7 separate regions of the Homo sapiens genome follow, and all the other regions are linked to region 2. Evidence: promoter capture Hi-C in human tissues and cell types (Jung and others, 2019). All regions are on one chromosome and are shown on one strand. Each heading gives the region's core, a stretch centred on a gene start or on the middle of the fragment in contact. The rest is flanking DNA. Distances are from core to core; before and after follow the strand shown. Region 1 holds the start of ZNF609 (zinc finger protein 609). Region 2 holds the start of RBPMS2 (RNA binding protein, mRNA processing factor 2). Region 3 overlaps CSNK1G1 (casein kinase 1 gamma 1). Region 4 holds the start of CLPX (caseinolytic mitochondrial matrix peptidase chaperone subunit X). Region 5 overlaps CSNK1G1 (casein kinase 1 gamma 1). Region 6 has its middle 5.8 kb from the start of KBTBD13. Region 7 overlaps CSNK1G1 (casein kinase 1 gamma 1).

Evidence for each region. The method cuts DNA at HindIII sites, captures the fragments that hold promoters and counts their contacts. A contact is called where the count stands out against the background at its distance.
Region 1: the fragment with the promoter of ZNF609 here is called in contact with the fragment with the promoter of RBPMS2 in region 2 in 2 of the 25 tissues and cell types used here (adrenal gland and liver).
Region 3: a contact is called between a fragment that was not itself captured here and the fragment with the promoter of RBPMS2 in region 2, in 1 of the 25 tissues and cell types used here (lymphoblastoid cells).
Region 4: a contact is called between the fragment with the promoter of CLPX here and the fragment with the promoter of RBPMS2 in region 2, in 1 of the 25 tissues and cell types used here (mesenchymal stem cells).
Region 5: a fragment that was not itself captured here is called in contact with the fragment with the promoter of RBPMS2 in region 2 in 1 of the 25 tissues and cell types used here (lymphoblastoid cells).
Region 6: a fragment that was not itself captured here is called in contact with the fragment with the promoter of RBPMS2 in region 2 in 3 of the 25 tissues and cell types used here (IMR-90 fibroblasts, lymphoblastoid cells and spleen).
Region 7: a fragment that was not itself captured here is called in contact with the fragment with the promoter of RBPMS2 in region 2 in 2 of the 25 tissues and cell types used here (adrenal gland and lymphoblastoid cells).

What each region holds. Positions count from the first base shown.
Region 1 is chr15:64,459,045-64,461,903 of GRCh38, forward strand. ZNF609 (zinc finger protein 609) reads left to right here and starts at 1,534. Exons shown (of 10, transcript NM_015042.2): 1 at 1,534-1,794. LOC105370861 (a long non-coding RNA gene) reads right to left here and starts at 1,543. Exons shown (of 3, transcript XR_932367.3): 1 at 1,455-1,543. RefSeq lists an enhancer at 1,056-1,125 and silencers at 1,586-1,705, 1,766-1,865. The HindIII fragment of the contact is 20,496 bases long and covers 1-2,859 here.
Region 2 is chr15:64,774,252-64,776,978 of GRCh38, forward strand. It overlaps RBPMS2 (RNA binding protein, mRNA processing factor 2), which reads right to left and starts at 1,338. Exons shown (of 8, transcript NM_194272.3): 1 at 982-1,338. The coding sequence starts at 1,068. RefSeq lists enhancers at 1,199-2,045, 2,046-2,727 and a silencer at 1,514-1,763. The HindIII fragment of the contact is 13,175 bases long and covers 1-2,727 here.
Region 3 is chr15:64,286,632-64,289,576 of GRCh38, forward strand. All of the region lies in intron 2 of CSNK1G1 (casein kinase 1 gamma 1), which reads right to left. Among named protein-coding and RNA genes, the nearest start is that of CSNK1G1, 68 kb to the right of the region's middle. The HindIII fragment of the contact is 7,080 bases long and covers 1-2,945 here.
Region 4 is chr15:65,183,952-65,186,720 of GRCh38, forward strand. It overlaps CLPX (caseinolytic mitochondrial matrix peptidase chaperone subunit X), which reads right to left and starts at 1,391. Exons shown (of 14, transcript NM_006660.5): 1 at 1,124-1,391. The coding sequence starts at 1,202. RefSeq lists an enhancer at 1,024-1,908 and a silencer at 1,330-1,639. The HindIII fragment of the contact is 6,593 bases long and covers 1-2,769 here.
Region 5 is chr15:64,270,490-64,273,270 of GRCh38, forward strand. All of the region lies in intron 2 of CSNK1G1 (casein kinase 1 gamma 1), which reads right to left. Among named protein-coding and RNA genes, the nearest start is that of CSNK1G1, 84 kb to the right of the region's middle. The HindIII fragment of the contact is 4,787 bases long and covers 1-2,781 here.
Region 6 is chr15:65,081,233-65,083,939 of GRCh38, forward strand. No RefSeq gene overlaps it. Among named protein-coding and RNA genes, the nearest start is that of KBTBD13, 5.8 kb to the left of the region's middle. The HindIII fragment of the contact is 8,916 bases long and covers 1-2,707 here.
Region 7 is chr15:64,305,210-64,308,131 of GRCh38, forward strand. The region is part of intron 1 of CSNK1G1 (casein kinase 1 gamma 1); the gene reads right to left. Among named protein-coding and RNA genes, the nearest start is that of CSNK1G1, 50 kb to the right of the region's middle. The HindIII fragment of the contact is 8,039 bases long and covers 1-2,922 here.

The DNA.
Region 1 (2,859 bases), core at 284-2,783, 320 kb before region 2:
ATTTGACCTGTGAGATGCAGTTTGCCAACCCTTGGTCTAGAGGAACAGTAAATCAAAACTTAAGGTTTGTTTACTATGTGGGACATCTGATCACTTGAAAATTTTTAGTGGTTCTTCGAGGCTTGAGAACTTTCTCTGGCTGAAACTTGGAGTTCACTGCAGGAATGTTTACCTTCCTTTGTTCCCTATTTTTGCAGTCTAGTTCTCTCCAATGGCAGAGTCATGCTCCTTCAGTGGGAGATGACTACTGGAATGTTTAATCCTTAATTAAATCATGCCTAAGTCTAAAACACTAAACCCTTCTCTGTCTCCACCTGCTAAGTAGCTGAATCCTCACTTGTAACTTTGTCTAGTATACATTGGAAGTTCGCTGTCACCTGGGATCAGTTCTGCCCCTGTACTGTCTAACAACATGACTATTGGTGGACCAAAGAGAGATTATTTTTCCTAGACCAGAAAGGTTTACTTTTATCTTTAGCTATCAACCCCTCCCCCCACCTTTTTATGACCTCACTTTATCTCCAAGTCACATGCTATCTTGAGTGGCACTGTTGAAGGATGCCCCAGGATAAGGGAAAAAAGGTAAGATAAATGCAAAGCAAAATAAAATGGTCAAGGACACAGGAAGGACATAATAGGGGCTAGGATGTGGGAGGCCTTGAGAATTAAGGTAAATTTGTTTGCTATGGAATGAGATGGAAGTCTTAGGAGGTCGTCATGAATAGATGTTTCACAAGTGAAAGCTGGGTGGGAGGGCTCACTTAAACATGGACTGAATGCCTACTGTGCACTAGATAGTATGCTGGGCAATCAGAGATGAATAGCAGATAAGGAAAAATAAAAGCTACAATCCTTAGAATGGTGGGTTGGAGAAGGACAGAATAAGGTTTTTAGATAATAAAAGGCAACAAGATTTAGTGATAGAGGATGGTGAGGGGAAAAGGGATATATAGAGGGATTAGAAATGGGTGCTTTGGGGAGAAAAGCAAGTGGTAATCCTAAAAGAGAAAGCTGGAGAACAAAGGATAAAAAATTAGGAGGTTGGTACTTTGCTGAACTAAGGGGTAAAATGGATGAAACCATCAGGAGCTGTGATTGCTCTTCTGTTCTTTGTGGATGCCCATGTTCAGATCCCCTACGGCCCTTTCCTCTCTGTGGTTGAAGGACAACTACAGAAGAGGTGTCTTCTGTGTTATAAGGTGCAATACTCCCCCCAGAGACCTCTCTATGAGGAAGTCTGATCCAGCGAGAGTTCTACTGCCCACGAGGGGACAGCGTTAGGTTCGAGCTCTCTAATCCAGGTTTCTTTGAGTTTATCTTGGTTCTAACCGGCACGCCGGGTTTTCCAGCATTCCCTGAGCTAAGACTCCCTAATCTGGGCTCCGGGTGAGCGCGCATTCCGAGACCCAGGATTTCGCTCCTTCATCCAGGTTCCGGGTTTCCCCTGCGCTCACCGGCTCCAGACTCCACACAAGCGCGGAATCCGGATCCGAGGGCCTGGCAGTCCAGTGTCCGCGTCTTCCGGGTGACTCTGGTTGTCCCGGATCGCGGCGGCGGCGGCGGTGGCGGCGGCTGAGGGACCCGCGGCCCCGGACACAGCGGCACCGGCCGGGCGGGGCGGAGAGGCGCGGGGAGGGGGCAGAGAGCCAGAGCCGGAGCCGGAGCCGGAGCCGGGGTGGGGTGGGGGGGAGGGGCCGCGGGAACGGATGGCGGCCTGGGCCCCGTAGCAGCGGCGGCTCTACGGCCCGGGGCCCCGGGCGGGCGGAGGTGGCGGCTCCCGGGACCGGCCGCGCGGTGAGTCCGGAGCTTTGTGTGGAGCCGGGACTGGGGGAGGAAAGAGGCGGCGGCACCGATGGGGCGCGGGGCTGAGGGGATCTGATGGGGGCCGGGGGCGGCGGCGCTGCCTGACGGAGGAAGTGGGGGTTGGGGGGGCTGGGGCGGAGCGAGGGGAAGGTGTGTAGGGGGGGTCGTTGCGTGGGTGGGGGAGGGGGCGTCGAGGGGCGCGGGGTGAAGTTCAAAGCGTGGCCACGGCCGGTTCAGGCTGAGGGTAGGGGTGCCCGGGAGGGGATTAGGGTCTGGCTAGGTTATGGGAGCAGGCCAGAGAGTTTCTGAGGCGAGTCTGGGTATGTTGAGGGCGCTCGGGGCGACTGGGGCCAGTCAGGGAGTTGGCGGGGGAGGGGGGGCGGGGGCGGTGGTGGTTGTTCAGAGCATAGGGTCGGAAGCAGGACGTGTGCGTGACCTAGGAGTGGGGAGCAAGGTGGCTGGGATCCTGCAGTAAGTAGGTTGTGGGTGTGTGCCCCTAACAGTCTTCAGGTCACATTTACTCCTGTCCTTTTCTTCAAGATGGAGGGATCCCTGGGCCTGGACCTCAACTGCTATCCTTGTACCCCCGGGAGGGTTTGTGACCCTATCCTGTTTGGAAAACCCATGCTGCCCTCTTTTCCCTTTATGTGTAATTACGGTTGGATCATCTCTGTGCTTTGCTCAGATTCTCCTTCCTCCCTCTGGGGTTGAGGAGGAGGAGACACATCTGACCAATTAATGTGTGTTTGTGAAACAGGCAGCAGCAAACAGTCATTTCAGCTTCGAGGAATTAGGCTCACACAGGGTGGAGAGATCAGAGCCCTTCAGGGGGAATATTTCTGAACAAATCACGGATGATTAAATTCTCTAAGAAACAGCTCCCTACCTAAATGAGAGTGAGAAAGATAGGGAAGAAAGCCTGTCTGTTTCCAGCCATGTGTCCAGAGCCTAAGGGGTTGAGGAGAGTCCCCAAGCCCCTACAGGCCTCCCTTTTCTGTATTAGGCTTTGCTCTGCAGCCTTGAGTTAATTTCACCCCTGCTGCTTTGTCTTGGGGG
Region 2 (2,727 bases), core at 88-2,587:
CCAGGGCAGGGGCAGGAAGGCTCTCTCACCCCTAGAATGACGCAGCAGAGGCCAGAGGCCCTGCGAAGCCTGTCCCCTTCTACTCCAGTTCTTGTCTCCGCCAGCCTAGCTCCTCGTCCCTATTCACTGATATCTTTGAGGCTTTTATCCAGCACCCCACCCCGCACACACATCCTCCCTACCATCCATTAACCACCCAGCTGCTGGTGGTTCCACGGAGCCGCCTTACACTCCCTCCCTTTCGCACATGGCCGGTGGACGAGATGATTTCGCCCCTCCTGGCAGGATCCCACCCAGGCCAGCTTTGGGGTCCTGGCTTGGTTGCCAGGACAAACCCAGAGAGAGGAGAAGGACGAACTGAGTGTCTTTAGTCATCTTCCAAACTAATTAAATTGTGGGCTCACCTCTGCCAAAGCCCAGGTTCTGGGGCTGTGAAGAAAGCCCGCCCACCCCCATGACAACAGCTCGCAGGAACCGAGGAGCCGGCCGGCCCAGGCCTCCAAGGTCACGGGGAGGGGGTCAGGGCGGAAAAGGCAGTGGAGTGAGGGTGCCGCCCTCGGGCCGTGCTAATCCCGCTCCGCTCCGTGCCGCCGAGGCGGGGTCCTGGCCACGCAGGAGGTGCGCCTCGGAGGAGGGCGGCGAGCGGCTACGGGGTGGGGAGCAAGGGGCGCGCGGGCGGCAGGCATGGAACGGACGCGGCGCATCTCGCCCACCGCGGGACGCCCGGACGGCGGCCGGCGCGCGCGGCCCGCCTCGAGCCCGAGAGGGCGGGGAGACAATGCCTGTCCGGCGGGGCAGTCCAGGCCGCACGCTCCCGCCCGCGGACACGGGCCGCTCCTACCCGGGCGAGAGGGCAGCGGCGGGAAGGCGCCGGGAGCGATGGCCACCCCGGCCCCGCGAGGCGCGGCAGGCCCCGCTCGCCCTCTCCCGCGCCCGCCTGGCGTGCGCTTCACCCGGCAAGTCCCGGGGCCACAGACCCACCTCCTCCTCCAGGGCGCCGCCGGAGCCCGCGCCGGAGCCGGTGCCGGTGCTGCCGCCGTGCTCGCCGTCCGGCTTCAGGTTGCTCATGGTGCGGGGGAGGGGGCGGCGGGAAGGAACGCGAGGGCGAGCGCGGCGCCGGCCCCGCGGGAAGTGGGAAGGGGCGCGGGGAGCGGTGCGCTCGCGGGTGCGGAGCGGGTGGCGGGGGACCCACGGGGCAGTGAGAGGGGCAGCCTCCGCGTCGGGCCAGGGTCACATCAAGTTTGGCGGGTGCGGAAGGTGGGGAGGGGGTGCGGCGGGGGAGGCAGTGGGAGCCGGAGGGGCCGCCGCCTCCGCCTTTTCACTGCGACCGGCGAGTGCGCCGCGGCGGCGGCGGCGGCGGCAGCGGCGGCGGGGGGCGGGCGCCGGGGGAGGGGGCGGGCGCCGGCGGCGGGGGGCGGGGCCGGAACCGGCCTCAGCTGGGGCCCGGCCAGCCCCCTCCCCCGCCCGCCGCGCGGTCTCCGGGGGAACGCGCAGCCAATCCCCACCGCCCACCGTGGGCTCGCCCCGGCCCCGGCCGCGGGGCGCCGGCCTCCGGCCGGGCCTTTCCCCTCTCTCTCGCCTGGGTCAGCGCTCTCCCTCTCTCCTCTTCCCCCGCGCCCTTCTCCACGGCGAGTTTTTAAACTTTGATGAACTCGCCCGGCGAACTTTCTTAAAGGGGCCGCGCGCTGCGCGCCCCAGCCCGCGGGAGGTGGAGCCCCGTGCCCCGCACCCAGCGCCCCGGTCCCTGGGCGGCCCTGCCCGGGCGGCCTCGCGCTTAGGGCACCCGCAGCGAGGTTTCCGGGCCGTCGACTCCCCTTGTATCTTGATCTAGGGTTTTGGGGTTCCCGACGCACTCATTCTGCCCCTAAATCCAGTCGCGCAGACCTCAGCTCCGGGGGACCGAGTTCTGGGGGTGATGGCCGGGGGGAGGGGGTTGGGAGACACCTGAGCTTTGGCCCGGGCTGGGCGCTGTTTTGCTGAGTGACCTTGAGGAAATCACTTCCCCTCTCTGGCCTCAGGCTCCCAGCCCAGAGGGTGGGACTTAGGATCTCAAACTCCCTTCCCACTCCCAGTCACTATCTGAATAGGACTTAGGTGGGGATTCGAGTGTTGGGACCCCAATGGTCATTAGCGAGGGCTGCCTCGAATGACCAAGAAGGTTCTGTTGCCCACCTTGCCCTCAACACGCCTGGCTTTCGGGTCTTCTCGCTCCTCCCCCGACCTCAGTGCCCCTCACACCTTTCCCTGCCTCCTATTCTGAGCCCGAAGGCTGGGGACGGATGTAATAGCCTAGAGGCTGGGGGAGGTGGGGGAGGTCGTCGTGACTCCCCCCGCACCCCCGCGCAGGTCAGTAGGGCGCGGCCTCTGGGTCGGTTTTCTCTTCTATTTGAAAACCCAGCCGATGGGGGCCCGCCCTGCTGCCACAGTAGAAACCCGCACCCACCTCGGGGAGCGCTGGAAGCGCTGCAGCCTGAATCCGGCAGAGCCGCGGGAGAACTGGGTCCCTCCTCAGTGCCCCTTCTCCTGGACGGGGCGGAGGTTGCGGTGACCCGAGATCTTGCCATTGCACTCCAGCCAGGGCAACAAGAGCGAAACTCCGTCTCAAAAAAAGAAAAGAAAAAAGAAAAGCTGGATTTGCAGTCACGGACTGGTTAGGATCCCAGACCGTGGACAAGTGCCTGAGCCCCCAGAACCTCTGTGTGTCGACCTCCTGAATTAGGTAGGACT
Region 3 (2,945 bases), core at 134-2,633, 490 kb before region 2:
TTGTACCCCCAGGGCCTAGCTAAATGCCTGCCAAAAAACCAGATGCTCAATACAATTTGTTAAATGAATAAATGGCTAGGTAATTATGGAAATCTACCCCTAGCCTTTTATTTGAAAGAGGCATAGTGTTTATAACATCCTCCACTTTGATTCTGCTCTAAATTTACTTTGCAATAGTATAATATTAAACTTCACAATAATTAATTTACCAATGTTTTTCCTCCTCACCCCCTGGAAAATCTCTGACGATTAATGTTGGGGATGATCCACCATAAAAACTAGATGGTGTCACTTAAAAGATCATTAGTTATCATTTTATACTTTATTTATATTTCTTTTTCTGGTAACATGTAATTATATTAAATGCTAATGACTATCATCTTTGTATTATAATTAGACATTTATTCTGATGTCTTTTGTAACTATTTTTTTCTGGCTTGTGGTATTTCAACTATACATTTAACCAGTAACCGGTAAGACTACATGGCATATAATAGAAATAGCTACTTGTGATGTCTTGGATCTGGGCTGTAGTTCCAATTCTGTGACAAGCTGGTTGTTCTCCCTAGACCAAGTCACTTAATTTTTAATTTCTCTCATCTTTAAAACGATGACAGTTGAACTAGACAATGCTAAAGTTCCTTATAAGTCTAAAACTTAACTACTTTTGTTGATCTGGACTTCACATATTAAGTTACTCAAAGTTACCATAAACTTTTGGGAAGCCTGGGACCATTCTTGTCTCATTCTAAACTTACAGTCATCTTTTTCATATTAATTTTTGCTAATCTAGTTGTCAAATCTAAAATTGTACAGTAGAACTGGTTTGTGAACCATGGTTAGGACTTTTGTTCAACTCTTTGCTTATTTAATATAATGCTGAATCTTGATTCTGTTAACCAGCAATACATATTAGCTGCCCCACCCAAAGCACTGTGTTGTGTACAGCTTTCATCAGTATGTTCTTCAAAGGTTTGATCCAATTCACTGTTGAAGTGGATAGGACCAAAATACAGAATTCTACTGTTTAGCATCAATGAGGGCAATGATCCATTAACTCATTCTCTTTTATGAAGATGGTTAAAGGAATGACAAATCTACTTAATTATCTTTTCAGTCACCGCACATTTCTATATGTTACCAGAATACACAAAAGTATGTCAAATAAATGCCCTGCTGAAATAAAAATGTATAACATAGACATCTAGTTTAACATGGCAGAAAAAAATTGAGACATTTAGCTCTATTTATTTCCAAAACCCCACTGAAAGGACAAAGGAAACAAGAAAGGACAAAGAGAACAGGTGAGGAAACAGTAGACTAGAGATGTCAACATTTTGGAAGATGAGAATTGAATAAACAAATGGTAAATGACTTAGCAAAACTAAGCCATCCAGCAGAAAAGGAATCTAAACACAGAATTACCTAATATCATGACAAATTTTTTAATTGTTGGACTTGAGGAAAAAAAATTAATGAAAGGTATATTGATAACTAAGAATTTTTTTTAAAAATCAAGTATCAGCAATTTTTAATTCTGAGGGAAGGAATGATGGAGTCATACTAAAAAGGAAATACAGTAACAGTGCTCTCATAGATTGGTTGTAAACAATACTTCCACAGCCATAAAGCTGTAAATGTAAAAAAATTATTGAACCAAAAAATATGACATAAGTATATTGGGAGAATATGGGCAAGGTATGTACGTCATTAGGGATGGCATCTGTGAGACAATCAATAACAACATCTAATATTGAAAAAATTAAGAAATAATATTTAGAAATAAGGAGGTATCTAGACGACATGGATAAAATAATTGAACCACTTGCCTATAGGATTCAGAACTTTAGAATCTATGTAACCTAGTTATTGGAATTAAAGATAAATTATAAAAAATATTACATGATACTTTATAAAGTTATATATATATATGTGTGTATGTGTGTGTGTGTTTGTGTGCATGTGTATATATATATATTTCCTCTTGTCCTAGTAACCCCAACATAGAAAAAAAAAATTGAATCAATCCAGCATCACCTGCTCTTTGAAAGCCCACAACAGCTGGCAGTAAGCTCCACTTTCTTTGACAAAAGCTTTGCCGCCTTCTGGAAAAGTAGGCCATAAGTTCAGACAGTTTTTTCCTTAGGATGCATGATGACATCATGTAAATACTGCTTCTGAATCACCCTCATAAACACATCTTTCTATAAACTTCTGTTGCCCATAACCATCCTACTTTCATAGTCCTCCTCAAAAATTGTGGCCAGACATGGTGGCTCATGCCTGTAATCCCAGGACTTTGGGAAGCCAAGGTGGGCAGATCACCTGATCTCAGGAGTTTGAGACCAGCCTGACCAACATGGCGAAACCCCATCTCCACTAAAAATACAAAAATTAGCCGGCCGTGGTGGTGCACGCCTGTAACCCCAGCCACTCCAGAGGCTGAGGCAAGGCACGAGAATCACTTGAACCCAGGAGATGAAGGCTGCAGCGAGCCGAGATTGCAACACTGCACTCCAGCCTGGGCGAACAAGTGAGACTCTGTATCAAAAAAAAAAAAAAAAAATTCCGGAATTGTTTGGCAAGCCTGGAAATTTTACCATTACATTCTTCTGGTTAACCATTCAAGATGTCAATGCATAATCTTGCAAGTATTGTATCTGTGACACTTCTAAAATTACCATATTAATGCAATGCAGACTGTGTGTCACCTAATGTGGTTAGAACTCTTCATTTCTACTTTATTTTGATGGATTATGCTATTGACAGAAATAATTCTTCTCCAAGATCTGTTAAAACTGCTTAACCTTAACAAATTGTGCTTAAGTTAAACTAGGGTGTAATTCCAAAAGAAATTTAAACTACGATACTACTACAAACAAGAATCTCATATACATTTGATATTCTTCCAAGAAAATTAAAATGCACAACAAAAACAAAATAGA
Region 4 (2,769 bases), core at 141-2,640, 410 kb after region 2:
ACTGGTTGAGGCTTAACATCGATTTAGGATTAAATTTACTCCCTTACATTTATATATCATTTTACAAAATGCTTCTGCCCACGTTACCTCATTCAATCCTTCCTTCTGTAGTAAAGAAACTGGAAGATATATTTAGTAAACAATAAGGATTTTATAATTGGCTTAGAAGTTAGATAAAAGGGGCCTTTTTAAAAATCCATCCAAGGGTCATAAACCGATAAGCCAAAATAAAACGAATTTGTCTAGAAGTCAGTCATTATAACAGGATCTAGCCTCGTGGTCTGACTTCCACAGATTTGAGGAAGAGAAAAAAAGTTTATTTTCCAGACTCTCTTGGCTGGGGCGCCATTCTTTCACAGCTTCAGATAAACAGAAAGAAAAGGTAAACAACATGCGCCACTCTTAGGAAACTACCTCCCGGTCAAGTTGGGAAAGCCAGCAAAGGACTGCTGAAACACCCAAGTACTTCCGAACCAACTCCTGCGGGACTTCTCCCCATCTCTCCCGCCGCTGTCCTGCGGGCCCCGGGGCTTGCCTGACGCCGGGAAGTATTGTGAACCTTGTTTATGTCCCAGTGTCAGGGCCGCACAGTGATAGTAACATCTCGGGTATCGCGCGGCTTGCGTCCGGGACGGCCAGCTGGGTGCCCCGAGTCCTGGGGGACCCTAGTAGGGACAGATCCTCAGCCGAGCCCCTCCTGGAGCCCCCAACGGGCCCGAGGGGGATCCCGGCCAGGCTGCGGAAGAAGAGCCGCAGCCATGGCAGGCGGCGGTCCCCGGCAGGGCTGAGTGGGATCTGGAGACATTTTTTAATAACAGGAGCATTTTGTGCCTTTCAGGGTTTCTACAAAGTGGCCGCATTCCGGCCCCAAAGTCAGCAGGCCTGAAAGCGTGCAGGCAGGCGCGTGGGAAGGAGTTTACTTCCAATTTGAGCAACGGCTGCTCCAGAGGTTGGCAGAGCCCCATTCCACGGGGAAAGTGGTGGGTGCCGGGCGAAGCGCCGCGCATTCCCTCACACTCCCCGGGTGCAGCAGGCCTCGTGCCCTCCCCGGGGCCCCCAACCATTGGCCAGTCCACCCCCCCCCCGACAGGCTGAGGGCTCAGGAGTGGCACTATTTCGTTACCTCTCTGCGCGGAGGCGAGTGAGGAGGTGATGAGCCGGACGGCCGCCGCGCCGCAAGTACAAGCACCGCAGCTGGGCATCTCCGCGAGGCCTAGGCCGGGGCTTCGCCCCCTGAGGACCTCCGGGTCACAGCGGCGTGAATCCTGCCCGCAAGGCGCGCTGACTCGGTTCCGAACCCTTTCGCGGGCCCTAGACCCCGTGGAGAGTTCACCTGCCCGGCAGCCAGGCCTTCACGCTTCTCTGCCCCACAGCCGTCTATTCACCAGAGTAGACACCCAACCCCCCCCTCCCTTCCCCTCCTTCTCCTTCTACCCCCACCCCCAGCCTACTGGGCCCGGGGAGCTTGCGCGCGCCTGCGCCCTAGGCCCGGGGAGGGGGCGGAGGGCGTGGGCACGCGCCGTGTTTGCGAGCTGGTGAAGCTACGTGAGGCGAAGGCGAGGGGGTGGTGCCCTGGGCGCCAATGAGTTCCCTACGGCAAGCGTCTAGCCCCAACTGGGGCGACTACAGGTCCCGACGCTCAAGGTTGCCAAAAGCCCTTTTATCCTAAAGTTGAAAGGTTTTGCGATAGACGCGGAGAGATGCATGCCGGGACTTGTAGTCCCGAGTCGTCATAGTCGAGCTCTTCCGGTCACTTTTAGTGGGCGGCAGGGAAGGTCAAGGTGAGGCTGGTGGCTTAACCCTCCAGGGGGAAGTCTCTAAAGTGCCTTGGTAGGCGCTGGATGCTTCAGATTCACTAAATTTCTTCCCCCGGAATTCCACATCCTGTGTTCCTTATCTTCTCATTCTCCTTAGTTTCATCACTTGTAACATGGAGTTGGTATTGTCAGTTAGTTCCCTGAGCAGCAATTGTTAGTTGGTAACAGCTCCGTCTCCTTGTTCTTTCAGGCCTCGTGGTGATAAAGCTTCTAGCTGTTGCTAGTCCGTGGGTGCTTTAAAGTCTTGAGGGTTTTCTTTTCTTTCTTTCTTTTTTTTAATTTAGTAAAGATGAGGTCTCCCTATGTTGCCCAGGCTGGTCTCAAACTCCTGGGCTCAAGTGATCCTCTCGCCTCGCCCTCCCAAAGTGCTGGGATTACAGGCGTGAGCCACCGCACCCGGCCGTGATTAAGGATGGCACTGCATAGATAACCTCTGGTCAGGTTCCTATCAGGCCATCCTCTCAAGTTATGAATTCAAAAGCACAGAGCCGGCTGGGCGTGGTGGCTCACACCTGTAATCCCAGCACTTTGGGAGGCCGAGGCAGGTGGATCACGAGGTCAGGAGTTTGCGACCAGCCTGACCCACATGGTGAAACCCCATCTCTACTAAAAATACAAAAATTAGGTAGGTGTGGTGGCGTACTCCTGTAATCCCAGCTACTCAGGAGGCTGAGGTGGGAGAATTGCTTGAACCCAGGAGGCGAAGGTTGCAGTGAGCCGATATCGTGCCATTGCACTCCAGCCTGGGCGACAGAGCGAGACTCCGTCTCAAAAAAAAAAAAAAAAAACCCAGAGCCATCTGAGATTATCCCTGTGAGAAAATGGATCCTTCACCAGGAAAGTGATGGCAAATACTTGTGGTCACATCAGCCCTTCCACATCACACCTACTTTCAGCTGTTTTCTGACAGATTAATGACGCTTTAAAAAGAAAGTCAAGTGCAGTTTTCCAG
Region 5 (2,781 bases), core at 48-2,547, 500 kb before region 2:
TGGCTCACGCCTGTAATCTCAGCACTTTGGGAGGCCGAGATGGGCGGATCACGAGGTCAGGAGATCGAGACCATCCTGGCCAACACAGTGAAACCCCGTCTCTACTAAAAATACAAAAAAATTAGCCGGGCGTGGTGGCAGGCGCCTGTAGTCCCAGCTACTCGGGAGGCTAAGGCAGGAACATGGCGTGAACCCAGGAGGCGGAGCTTGCAGTGAGCAGAGATCGTGCCACTGCACTCCAGCCTGGGTGACAGAGTGAGACTCCGTCTCAAAAAAAAAAAAAAACACTACCTGAGCTGTGTCCCAGAGACTCTGGTATGTTGTATCTTCGTTCTCATTAATTTCAAAGGGCTTCTTGATTTCTGTCTTTATTTCATTATTTACCCAAAAGTCATTCAGGAGTAGGTTGTTTAATTTCCATGTAACTGCATGGTTTTGAGTGATTTTCTTAGTCTTGACTTCTATTTTATTTTACTATGTATGTGTGTATTTTATTTATTTATTTATTTTTGAGACAGAGTCTCGCTCTGTCTCCCAGGTTGGAGTGTAGCAGCACGATCTCAGCTCACTGCAACCTCTGCCTCCTGCGTTCAAGTGATTCTCCTGACTCAGTCTCCTGAGCAGAGTAGCTGGGACTACAGGCATGTACCACCACACCTAGCTAATTTTTGTATTTTTAGTAGAGACAGGGTTTCACCATGTTGGCCAGGCTGGTCTTGAACTCCTGAACTCAAGTGATCCGCCTGTCTCAGCCTGCCAAAGTGCTGGGATTACAGGTGTGAGCCACTGAACTCGGCCAATTTATTTATTTATTTTGAGACAGGGTCTCACTCTGTCACCGAGGCTGGACTACAATGGCCCCATCTTGGCTCACTGCAACCTCCGCCTCCCCAAGACGCAAGCAATCCTCCACCTCAGCCTCTCAAGTAGCTGAGACCACAGGTGCACATCACCACACCTATTTTTTTCTGGTATTTTTAGTAGAGACAGGGTCTCGCCATGTTGCCCAGGCTGGTCTTGAACTCCCGAGCTCAAGCAATCAGCCCACCTTGGCCTCCCAAAGTGCTGGGATTACAGGTGTTAGCCACAGTGCCCAGCCTTGGCCTTCATTTTAATTGTACTGTGGTGCAAGAATGTGTTTGATATGATTTTGGTTCTTTTGAATTTGCTGAGAATTGTTTTATGTCCAAATATGTGGTTGATTTTAGAGTATATGCCATGTGGTGATGAGAAGAATGTATATTCTGTTGTTTTGAAGTGCAGAGCTCTGTAGAGGTCTGTAAGATCCATTTGGTGCAATGTTGAGTTCAGGTCCTGAATACCTTTGTTAATTTTCTGCCTCAATCATCTGTTTGATACTGTCAGTGGAGTGCTGCTATTATTGTGTGGGAGTCTACATCTCTTTGTAGGTATCTAAAAACTTGCTTTACGAATCTGGGTGCTCCTGTGTCGGGTGCATATATACTTAGGATAGTTAGGTCTTCTTATTGAATTGAACCTTTTACCACTATGTAATGTCCTTCTATCTTTTTTGATTTTTGTTGGTTTAAAGTCTGTTTTGTCTGAAATTAGAACTGCAATCCCTGCCTTTTTCTATTTTCCATTTGCTTGGTAGATTTTCCTCCATCCTTTTATTTTGAGCCTACGGATATCATTACATGACATGGGTCTCTTGAAGACAACATACTATTGGGTCTTGCTTTTTATCCAGCTTGCCACTCTGTGACTTTTTTTTTTTTCTTTTGAGATGGAGTCTTGCTCTGTCGCCCAGGCTGGAGTGCAGTGGCGCAATCTCGGCTCACTGCAAGCTCTGCCTCCTGGGTTCATGCCATTCTCCTGCCTCAGCCTCCTCAGTAGCTGGGATTACAGGCGTCTGCCACTATGCCTGGCTAATTTTTTTGTATTTTTTAGTAGAGACGGGGTTTCACCGTGTTAGCCAGGATGGTCTCAATCTCCTGACCTTGTGATCCGCCCACCTCGGCCTCCCAAAGTGCTGGGATTACAGGTGTGAGACACCACGCCCGGCCCCACTCTGTGACTTTTAAATGGGGGTATTTAGCCTGTTTACATTCAAGGCTAGTATTGATAGGTATGGATTTGATCCTGACAATGTGTTGTTAGCTGGTTATTATGCTGGCTTGTTTGTGAGGTTACTTTATAGTTTCACTAGTTTGTATATTTAAGTATGTTTTTGTATTAGCTGGTAGTAGTCTTTCCTTTCTATATTTATTGCTCCTTTCAAGATCTCTTGTAAGGCAGGTCTGGTGGTGTTTTGGAATGGGGTCTTGCTCTGTCGCCCAGGCTGGAGTGCAGCGGTGCAATCACAGCTCACTGCAGTCTCAGTCTCCTAGGCTCAAGAAATCTTGGAATGCACCACCACATCCAGCTAATTTTTGTAGAGACAGGGTTTTGCCATGTTGCCCAGGCTGGTCTCAAACTCCTGTGCTCAAGAGATCCACCCACCTCGGCTTCCCAAAGTGCTGAAATTACAGGCATGAGCCACTGTGCCTGGCCTTAACTCTTGTTTTTATCAATTACCCCACTGTAAAATTAGTTTCTTTATACATGGTTTCACTTAAAATCACAGTGTCCAAGAACCTATTGATGAAGTTAAGTGAGAACTTACTGCACTGTATATTTCAAGATAGCTAGACAAGAGAATCTTGAAAGTTATTATCACAAAGGAAGGATAAAGATTGAAGGCTATGAACATGCTAACTACCCTTATTTTATTATATAATGTACAGATGTATTGAAACATCACACTCTACCCCATAAGCA
Region 6 (2,707 bases), core at 6-2,505, 310 kb after region 2:
CATCAGCTCCTAGTCTCTCTTATCCCACAGCATTGTCTGCACTTGGGGCTGCTTAGCCCCAGCCTGCTGGCTCCTGGCATTTGGTTGTTCCTCCCTTCATCCAGGGCAGCCCTTTCTGAGATGCCTTTTGTGCGTAATAATAACACAGTGTTCACAGAGAGCTTTCCCACAGTTGACTTACTTGAGCTTTTGAGAATTTTAAGTGGCAGATAGTTTGGCAACACCCCTACTCCCGCAGCTTAATGGAGGGAAAAAAGCTCAACGGTCATGTGATTAGAAGAGGCTCGTTAGGTAGTGGCAGAACCTGGCTGTGAACCCAGGGCCACAGGCTTGTCTTCTGTGCTACATGCCTGCTTGGCCGACATCCTGAGATGGACAGGGTGTTTCCAATGGTCTCCTTAACACTCCCTCCGTTTTGCCTTTCTCTATGTATCCCCACCTCTTTTGGGGGTTCGTTTGTTCCCTTGGACTCAGCCCTTTCTCTTCCCTCTTCCATAGGAAAGTTAACTAGTTCTCTTCCCTTAGGATAGACCTGGGAGACCAGTAGCCCCGTTCAGCCCAGGTAATGACTGGTTTAGGCCCTGGGGGATATTTGCACGTTCACTGATACTTCCCTCGTCTCAGGAAGTGTGGGGAAGCTTTGTAACCCAGCCCACCTTCTCTGTCTAAGGGTTCTCACAGTTAAGGCTTTGTTCCACCCACAGTCAGCATGTGTCACCACTGCCCACCACCCTCAGCAGGGATGGTGACTGTGCCTGGGGTGCCTGTGAGGAAACCAGCAGAAAGCCAGAATGGCTGGCTCACCCAGAGTCACACAGGCAGTTAAGTGGAAGAGCAGGGACTTGAACTCAGGACTTGGGATTCTCAGCCTCTCATTCCCCGGCATCTCGGCTTGACTATTGCATGAAGGTGTGGGGGGCACAAACCAGGTGCAGCTGGGCAAATTACAGAAACACTTAGGAGTTACTGAGCTCAGAGGGCTGGATTTGAAATCTCTCTGTCCCAGCCCAGAGGTTTACTCTGAGAAGTCCGTCCTTTCTGAGAGGCCTACACTCACACAGCTTAAAGCTGCAGGGATCATTTTCCTGAACCTGGTGGCAGCCCTGCAGCCCAACTCTCTGGAGTTCTCTCCAGTCTTCCACAAACGTTCTCCTTGCCCCTGACTCCAGATGTCCTGCACCCCAAGCCTTCCTCTCCCTGAAATCATCCTATGTGGTTTATATAGCCCGCCTGGCAGAGGCAGAGAAGCTGCCCCACCCCTGTCCACCAAGGACCTGCTTCCTTGCTGGCTTCCCTTCAGTGTGCTCACAGGGCAGCCAGAGCCATCCTAGTTCAACAAAATGCCAGTCAGAGCCTGGTGCGCCCCCTCTGAAAGGCAAAGTCCTTTCAGACTCTCCCACCCTGTTTCCTCCCTGACTTCATCTCCTCCCACTCCTCTCTGGCCTCATTGCTCCTCAGACGCACCAGGCACACTCCGGGCTCAGGGTGTGTGGCTGGTGTCCCTCTGCCTGCGCACTGCCTCAGCCCCACCCCACTTCCTGCAGGTCTTGGCTCAGATGTCACTTCGATCCTACAGACTCTCCTAACCTCCCTACTTAAAATCTACCTCCCCCTTCTCTACATGTTCTCCTCCCTTTTCCTGTTTTATTTTTCTGCATAGCTTTTAGCATCATCTTCCATGCTATCTTTTCACTTGTTTGCTGTTGGTTTTCTCCTACTAAAATTTGAGCTCCACGAAGGCAGAGGGTTTTTTCTGTTTTGTTCACTGCTCTCTCATCAGGACCCAGAAAAATGACTAGAACGTAGTAGGCAGCTTAAGAGATGATTTATTTAGTAGGGACTTAAGAAATATTTGTTGAATGAATGAATGGCACTCAACGGATGTTTGTTGAAAGAATGCATTAATGAATTGATCAGTCAATCAAGGAAACTCCATAGGAAAGGTACAGAGAAAGGCTCTCAGATTTCAGAGGACAGGAGTATCATTTCTGGCAGGGCTGTGGCAGGTGGCCAGGGAAGACTTTTCTGTGGAGGTGACGAGCTGTCAAGTTTGCAGTCCACCTTGGGAAGAGTGGGATCTGAAAAGAGCAGCCGCTCACCGGTCACTTTTCTTTCAAGGGAAGGGAGGAAGCTGGGATTAGAAATGCTAATCATCCCTTGAAGAATGGCTCCTCTTGGCGGCGGAATACACACAGGGCTGCTCTGTTTATTTTCCTTTGGCCTCAAGGAGCTGGGGCCTCTTTTTCATCCTAATTGCTTTGCTTCAAGTTGCTGTCACATCCCAGGAACGGCAGCAAATTAACTGTGCTGGTGGGAGACACAGCTGTCAGAAGACAGGCTGGCCCCAGCAGGCCAGTAATAGGCATGGGATACAGGACCCCCCTAGAGGAGGTCTTGTCCCAGCAGCGTCCTCTGCAGCCCTCATGATTCTGCCCCAGCTGGACTGGGGAAGCATGAAAAGAGGGAGCCCTTCTCTCTGGCATTCGAGTAACTAACAAAGGGAAAATGGGCCTTTTGTTGGGCTGCAGGGTCTTGGAGCAGGGTATAAGCCTCTAGTTCCACCCCTCTCTTCACAGGGAAGGAAAGCCAGGTCGCAGGTTAGGGGAAAGCAACTTTCCTGGAGACAAAGCAATGCAAGTGGACCACCCAACCTAAAGCCTGCTTCTCTGGAATCCTCCTCCCATCCTAACATGTTATTTCCTGTGCT
Region 7 (2,922 bases), core at 283-2,782, 470 kb before region 2:
CTGATGTTTAAAACACAGGGTAAATTTCAAGAGCAGTATCATACCCAGAATAAGTATTTAGCAAACATTAAGCAAAAATGATATCTGTGTGCTCCAGTGCACACATGAATGTGTGTTTATAAAACTATCAATAACTATAGGACAAATTAAAAGACACTGTAGGACAATTTGAGTACCAATACAAGGCTTGAAATGCATTTAAGCTAAAACAAAACAAAACAAAAGGCCAGGTGCAGTGACTCACATCTGTAATCCCAGTGTGTTGGGAGGCCACAGTGGGGAGAATCACTTGAGCCCAGGAGTTCAAGAACAGCCTGGGCAACAAAACGAGATCCTGTCTCTACAAAATAAAAATAAAAATTGGCCGGGCAAGGTGGTATACACCTATGGAACCAGCTACTCAGGAGGCAGAACTGGGAGGATTGTTTGAGCCCAGGAGTTCAAGGTTGCAGTGCGCTATGATAGTGCCAGTATGACCCTGTCTCCAAAAAAAAAAAAACAAAAACAAAAACAAAAAAAAAACTTACTATAAAGCTACAGTACTCAAGACAGTGTGATATTGCAAAAAAAAAAAAACACAAATAAATCAATGGAACAGAATGGAAAGCCCAGAAATAGATTCACACAAATATATTCATACCAATCTTTGACAAAGGAGCAAAGGCAATTCAATGGAGAAAGGATAGTCTTTTTAACAAATGGTGCTAGAACAATTAGACATATATTTGCAAATAAAGAAAAATAATCTAGATACAGACCTTACATCTTTCGCAAAAATAAAATCAAAATGGATCACAACCTAAATGTAAAACACAAAATGATAAAACTCCTACTATATGCCATAGGAAAAAATCTAAATGACTTCGGGTTTGACAATGACTTCTTAGATATACCAACAAAAGCATGATCAATGAAAGAAGAAATTGTTAAGTTTAACTTCACTAAAACTAAAAACTTCTGCTCTGGGGAAGGCACTGCTAAGAGAATGAAAAGATAAGCCACTGATTAGGAGAAAATATTTACAAAACACTTAACTTGTTAGAGGCCTGTTATCTAAAATATACAACACTCTTAAAACTCAACAATCAGAAAACAACCCAGTTAAAATATGAGCAAAATATTTGAATCAGACGTCTCTTCAAAGAAGATATACGGATGGCAAATACATATATGAAAATATACTCAATACCATATGTCAGAAGGGAATTGCAAATTAAAACAATGATACCACTATACACTTATTAGAATAGTGAAAATCCAAAACACTGACAACATCAAATGCTAAGGAAGATATGGAGCAATAGGAACTCTCATTCACTGCTGGTGAGAATGCAAAATGGTACGGCTATTTTGGAAGAAAGTTTGGCAGTTTCTTATGTAACTAAACATACTCTTACCTATGACCCAGCACATTTCTTGGTATTGACCCAAATGAAATGAAAACTTAAGTCCACACAAAAACCACCACCTAAACGTTTACAGCAGCTTCATTTGTAGTTGTCAAAAAATGAAAACACTAAGATTTCCTTCAATAGGTGAATGAATAAACAAATTTGTGGTATAGCCATGCAATGGAATATCATTCAGCAATAAAAGGAAATGAATTATTGAAAGCTACAAAAAGACATAGAAGAACCTAAAATGCATATTGCTAAGTGAAAGAAATCCATTTGAAAAAGCTAAATACTACATTCCAAATTCATGACATTCTAGAAAAATCCTAACTATGGAGATGGTAAAAAGATCAATGGTTGCCAGATATTGTGGGTGGGGAGGGGGGCGGGTGAACAGGTGGAGCCCAGGGGATTTTTAGAGCAGGAAAACTATTCTGTATGATACCATAATGGTAGATGCATGTCATTATACATTTGTCCAAATCCATAGAATGTATAATACAAATAGTGTAATACATTCTATCTAATGTAAACTACCGACTTTAGTTAATAACGTGTCAATATTGGTTCGTTAACTACTACAAATGTAGCATAGTAATGCAAGACATTAATAATAGGGGAAAACGGGGGTGGAGGAGTGTTGGGGGATATAGGGGAACTCTGTACTCTCCACTCCATTTCTCTGTAAACCTAAAACTGTACCCAAAAAATCTAAAAATAAAGCCTGTTAATTAAAGTAATAATTCTATCTAAAAAAAGCAACAAGAAACTTAGGAAGCTATATTACAAAACCTGTACAAAAATCTATGCTCAAAACTACAAAATATTGGCCAGGCATGGTGGCTCATGCCTGTAGTCCCAGCACTTTGGGAGGCTGAGGCAGGTGGATCACTTGAGGCCAGGAGTTCAAGACCAGCCTGGACAACGTGGCAAAACCCTGTCTCTATTTAGTATACACTACTGTATTTCATGTACATATATATATACATACACACCACAGTATATCTAATCTTCAGACTACATTTTAGTAGTACACTAAAGTACGGGGACTTATGAAACATCTTGTCAGCAACTTACTTGTTTTTGATTTTGTTTTTGTTTGAGACGGAGTCTCGCTCTGTCACCCAGGCTGGAGTGCAGTGGTGCAATCTCGGCTCACTGCAAGCTCCGTCTCCCGGGTTCACGCCATTCTCCTGCCTCAGCCTCCTGAGTAGCTGGGACTACAGGTGCCCACCACCACGCCTGGCTAATTTTTTGTATTTTTAGTAGAGACGGGGTTTCACCATGTTAGCCAGGATGGTCTCAACCTCCTGACTTCATGATCCACCCGCCTCAGCCTCCCAAAGTGCTGGGATTACAGGCGTGAACCACCGCGCCCTGCCTGTCAGCAACTTACGCTTATGTGGTCAGGGAAAAAAATGTTCGTCTTCTACTTGCCAAAAAGGCACAGAAAACACTGTCCACTTAATCTATAATACTTATTTTTATCTTATTTCCTTATAACGTTGATCTCTGGAAATGACTGGAT